Regions from separate parts of the Homo sapiens genome. Here region 2 is linked to region 1. Evidence: promoter capture Hi-C in human tissues and cell types (Jung and others, 2019). All regions are on one chromosome and are shown on one strand. Each heading gives the region's core, a stretch centred on a gene start or on the middle of the fragment in contact. The rest is flanking DNA. Distances are from core to core; before and after follow the strand shown. Region 1 holds the start of ANTXR1 (ANTXR cell adhesion molecule 1). Region 2 overlaps ANTXR1 (ANTXR cell adhesion molecule 1).

What was found. The method cuts DNA at HindIII sites, captures the fragments that hold promoters and counts their contacts. A contact is called where the count stands out against the background at its distance.
Region 2: a fragment that was not itself captured here is called in contact with the fragment with the promoter of ANTXR1 in region 1 in 3 of the 25 tissues and cell types used here (H1 embryonic stem cells, adrenal gland and aorta).

The regions. Positions count from the first base shown.
Region 1 is chr2:69,011,812-69,014,511 of GRCh38, reverse strand. ANTXR1 (ANTXR cell adhesion molecule 1) reads right to left here and starts at 1,333. Exons shown (of 18, transcript NM_032208.3): 1 at 861-1,333. The coding sequence starts at 1,012. The HindIII fragment of the contact is 10,036 bases long and covers 1-2,700 here.
Region 2 is chr2:69,171,341-69,174,040 of GRCh38, reverse strand. The region is part of intron 14 of ANTXR1 (ANTXR cell adhesion molecule 1); the gene reads right to left. Among named protein-coding and RNA genes, the nearest start is that of MIR3126, 69 kb to the right of the region's middle. RefSeq lists an enhancer at 2,290-2,584. The HindIII fragment of the contact is 3,578 bases long and covers 1-2,700 here.

The sequences.
Region 1 (2,700 bases), core at 84-2,583:
AGCAAATCCTAAAGCCTAACCACTTTTTGCAAGGAAACCAGGGCTCCTGCACCTCCCTGGTAGCCCACCAGTCAAATGGCCAAGAGCTTGAATTCACTACATCTGGGGTACTCAAGTCGAAGGGGAGGGACATTTGGCAATGTCTGGAGGCATTTTTAGTTGTCACCACTAATAAGGAAGGAGTGGGGGGCGGGGGATGTTACTGGCATCCAGTGGGCAGAGGCCAAGGATGCTGCTAAACATCCTACAACGCGCAGGACAGCCCCCACCACAAAGAATTACCAGGTTTCAATCTCAGAAGTGCCAAGGTTAAGAAACCCTGCCTTTCATTCTCACTCAGTGCCCGGTGAGAAGTATGCATTACATGATTAGGAGCAAAGATAATGCCTTCCGTGGGACAGCGTTTCAAAACAAAACAAAAAAACAAAAACAAAAACAAAATGCGACGATTGGCTTTAAAATGCCCAAGCCTCTAACTTTAGGAGTGCCTGTGCCTGCAAGTTCTGCCTTTGGTAAGCAAGCCTTTCCCACCAACACGGGAGGGAGTCACAGAAACTCAGCAAGACAATAGCATCCTCCAAGCCCCTTGCCTGCTCCTGGGACACAGAAAGCAAGACAGAAAAGAAGTCTGTCCCCTTCCGAGCAAGCGGCGTCGCCTCGGCTGCGGGCTCTGGAGCCGAGGCTGGGAGGAGCGCGCCCCAACAAAGGCGCAGCACTCCGCCGCCGCCTGCCGCGCGGTCCCTCTGTGGCCCTGGAGATGCGCTCCTGTCCCCAGGCGACCCTGCCAACGAGCCCGGCCCGGGGCGAAAGCGTTTTCGCCCGCTTAGCCTGGGGTGGGGGGGACAACTCGCGGCACTTACTTGTCCAAAATGAAGTACAGGTCAAATCCGCCGTAGCAGGCTGGACCCCCATCCTCCCTGCGTCCCCCTTGCCCGGCGCAGATGAGCACCAGAGTGGCCAAAGAGAGCCACTGGAAGCCGATGCCGAGGGCTCTCCGCTCCGCCGTGGCCATGGCCCGCAGCCCGGGGAGAGCAGGGTCCGCTCCTTCCCACGCTCCGCGAACTCGCCACGACCCTCAGGGACGCGCCATCCGCGGGCCCTTCCTCGCGGGTCCTTTATTCCCCCTCGCTCCCTCGCAACTCCCCGGAAGCAATTGTCTGGAGGAGTTCAAGGTTTCCCCTCTGGTTTCCGCTCCGATGCTGTTTCTGGGTTTCGGGTTTCAAGGATCCCAATCCTGTCCTCCGCTTCTTTTAAAGGGGAGGGCTGCCTCGGTCCGGGGCCGCCGGGCAGCTCCCGAGGCCGCGCCGAGCTTTTGCAATGGAAGGAGTTCCGTCCCGACGGTTCTTTGTCCCAGATTTTAAATATGATGGGGGGGGGGGGGGGTTTCAAATTGTTCTTGGTGGGGGCAGTGCTTTGCCTTCTCTCCTTCCTCTCTGCCCCCCTTTCGCGTTCTTACGGGGAAGAAAGTTCAAAGGCTGCCACCTTGTGGACAAAGGCGGCGAAAGCACGCGTGGGACCCGCGGGAGTGCGTCGGGGGCGGGGGCGCTTCCAGGCTTCGCGTATAAATTTCCTTGTCCTTACCATTCTCATGTGAGCTGTGCGTGTTTTCTTACTCCTTCCTTCTTCCCACGCACTTTCCCTTTCTTTTTCCGTGACCGCCTCTCCATTCTCTGTAGTCCTTCTATTCCTTCTTTTCCTTCCCTATCCTGCATCTTTTGATAAGGTCACTAAACATTGGATGAGAATTTGTTTCCTCCAACCACGGTGACTCCGGCTCCCCAGGCTAGGACCTTTGCAAACAAACCATTGTGCAGATGAAGTAGGGGAAAAACGGGACCTTTGTGGTATGAGTCATCAGAGTGACCTTACATGGTCTTAGTCTGTCTGGACCATAAAAGAGACTGTTGGGGTCCGGTCTGAAACCATCACAAACAACCCCACAGAGTGTGGTACTTAGGGCTGCTCCCGGCATGGAACAGCTGAGCCTTCTAGATGGCCACCATCTCCATCTTTTAGGGATTCTATGATAATAGTTCTTCTTTTCAGCCTGTGAACTTTGACATTTTCTCTCTATCTTTGATTTAGGATGGAGGAAGTAAACAGCTTACAAGAGTAGAGACGCTCCAAGCAGTTTGGAATTGGCAGGGAAGTTCCGTGCTAGCCTCTCTAAATTGGAGAATCAGCCTCTGAGCCCCAGTTCCGAGTGGTACCCCAGTTCTAGCTTCCTATTGTCTTCCGCTCTGGGAGCCCTCAGTGCATATGCATGTACTGTTTTCCCAGGATTCTTCCTCCAGACACACATATTCCCCTCCACTTGTGTGCCTCCCAGACCCTTATACCCCAATGTGACAGTCCATGGTGGTTTCCCCCAACATGTGTACCATGGAATCTTAGTGTCTTGGAATGCTCCACTAACCAATAATCATGTTGTCAAATCAGCCTTGAAGATTTGTCATGCGTAGCACTGACCTGCCTCCAAAATGAACCCAGTGTTTCTCACCTCCTGGAATTCACACCCCTTCCACCTTGGGTGAGACTGACCTGTGAGTAATTAAGAAGATGGTGTGTGGCTTCTGAGGATAGGCCATGAGAGATGTTGTGGTTTTTCCCTTCTCTCTTGGATCACTCACTGTAGGAGAGCCCACTGCCATGTCGTGAGAACACACAAGCAGCCCCAAGGAGGGGTCCGTGTGGTAAGGA
Region 2 (2,700 bases), core at 179-2,678, 160 kb before region 1:
GAAATGAACAAGGGGAGGCGCTCTAGGCTCCAGGAAAGGAATGTTTTGTTTTTCATTGCAAATAAAATGTACTAGTCATCTGTCCAGCCCAGGTCTGGCCAAGGCAGTGTGATTAAGGAAGAAAATGGCAGGTGTTTCCAGAGCTATGCCTTTGATAGAGTGAGACAGGACATGGGAAAGGAAGCATCTTCTCTTTCCAGTACATTTACTTCATATGTAGGTCTGTGTGTGTCTGAGACATGGAGCTGCTTGGGGCTAAGCCATAACCCACTTTCCATTCAGTCATGGGGCTTCCTGCTATCTATTGCCTTTCAAATATGCTTGATATTGGGAACGATAGGATCTTTGAGAGCCTGTAAAAGTGGCAGATGTTGGAAGAATATGGTATGGATTCCTGGGTGTAGCTTTTATTTTGATAGTATTTAATGAGACCGAAGTTTAGTTTCTGAAACAATACTATTTCAGAGAGGCCACAGGGCCTGCACCAGGTCCATTCCTCCTTCTGAGGGGAGCTATTCTCACCATGGCCACGGGGCTTACTAGGAAGCTTCTCTTTGGCCAGATGTGACCCAAGAGCACCAGTCTGTTGGTTGGCTGTGAGCTGTGACTGATGATCTATGGTCTGGAGTGAAAAGATGAGCTGGACCAAGTATTTTCCCCTATTGGGAACTGAAAGATGGAAACTGAGAGACTCAGCTATAAGCACTGGGGGCAGATGGTGAAATGAAGACTAGAAATATCAGATGGAGTCAGGAGAGAGGGCTCTGTACAAACCAGAGTTACAAGGGCAGAGAGGCGGCCAGTAAGAGAAGGCAGAAGGGAATAAATTCCCAGAGAGAAGCAGAGCTGCTAGCAGTGAAATCGAAAGCCCATGAGGGTGGTGTCTAGAGCTGCCTCAGTTCTTTCCCCAGCCACAGTCTACCTGAGTTCTTTCATCTTGGACTAGCTTGAACTGGTCTCTGTTTTTTGCAGGCGAATGAGGCTGATAAAAACTCAAATATGGTCATAAAATCCATGGAAGGTGATTACATGCAGAACAAAACCGTCACATGAAGTGCTCCATTACTGCATTCTCCCACGAACTGCCAGTTATTTGGAGTAACTGGAGAGTTAGGGAGGGATCCCCACTGGTGCCACTTGAGAAGATTCTTAACCCAGGAAATGTCCCTCTTAGTTGTTAAAACTGAGCTTCCTTGCTTCTATTGAGCTCTTCAAGTTTCAAGTAATTTCTCTTTGTACCCTCTTCATACAAGTGTGTCACCGTTGGTTACATAGAATCTCAGCATATAGTTCCTTTTTCCATTCTGAATTTTTATATTTTCTATTAAAAAGGTCACTGAGAGCTTATTATAAAGTTATCTTCATTCTCTAAGTTTAGTTATTTAAATAGTAGACATGCCTCTCTCAGAATATGATGTTGATAGAGCTGATGAAAGTTGGGATAAATAATACTGAAGGTCTTCATATATACGGCAGAGAGTGTTTGATTTCATATAGCTATTTATTGAATGTTAGACACTGGGATTTGAATACAGGGAACTAGAGGAAAAGACTGTCTAGATTGAGACTATGATTTTCAGAGCATTGTATAAAATACGTTGCACGGGCTGTGTTAGGTTATCTGTTTCTGTGGGATTTCTTTCTTTCTTCTTCTTGTTATTTTATTTTATTTTCCTGCCAAAATACATTAGGAAGGAGATTAGGTGGCCTAACTCACAGGGCCAACACACACGCTAAGGCAATCAGCACATGCCAAAAAGCGCCTGATGCTAAAAAGTACAATGTTTAAATTTTTATTGCCTAGGTCTCCAGTTTGGGTAGTTTCTTGATTTATTTCTGACGTCATATTTAATTGATTAAGTCAGAGGGTTTCAAAGGGAAATGGAGGGGAGGGGATCTAGACTCCAGGAAGGGAATGTTTTGTTTTTCATCAGCCAATGAAATGTACTAGTCATCTGTCCAGCTCACGTCTGACCAAGTATAATCAACTGCAGGTGTTCACGTGAGTTATCCCTTTGATAGAGTGACAGGGGACAGGTGAGGAAGCTTCAGCCCAAAAACTCCTTTAAGCCTAACATAACCCTTTAGATTCAAGCATTCTGAGGTTGTCATTCTGTTTGGGAAATGAAGTCAGCTTTCTTTGGGTGTAACTACAACTTTTATGAAACAGAAAAAACTCAACTACTTCTCTTCCTTGCTTTTAGCTATCCTTCCTAGATGGTTTTCTAGTTTGGGCTTTTTTACTTGGCTCCAAAATTGTGTTGCTGGGTCCTTCATCCTAAAAGTCCCTGCTGAGCTTGTACTGTGTGTGCAACCCTAGGCTAGATGTTGGATCTGGGGTAAGTCAGAGCCCAGTCTTAACCTACATCCCCAGGTGCACTTTGGCCACTATGGCTGCCACGTCACCTTCTAAAGGCAAATACAGAGCAAGAGCCAAAAGAAAAAGCCACAACCCTTCTAACTGAACACAACAAGGGAGGGAATGTTATTTGCCTCCAGGCAAACAAAGTCCTAATAAGGGAGCTCCTTGCTCTATTTTATTTTTTATGTTTTGGAAGTCTAAGAGATAGCTGCACATAACAGAAGCAAAGCCAATTGCAGTCGTGGAACTAGCCACGGTACTTTCTCTTGAAGGATTAAGGAAAGGTTTTAATGTATGTAAAGAAGGTTTTTTCTTCTTCTTTGCACAGCAATGTAATT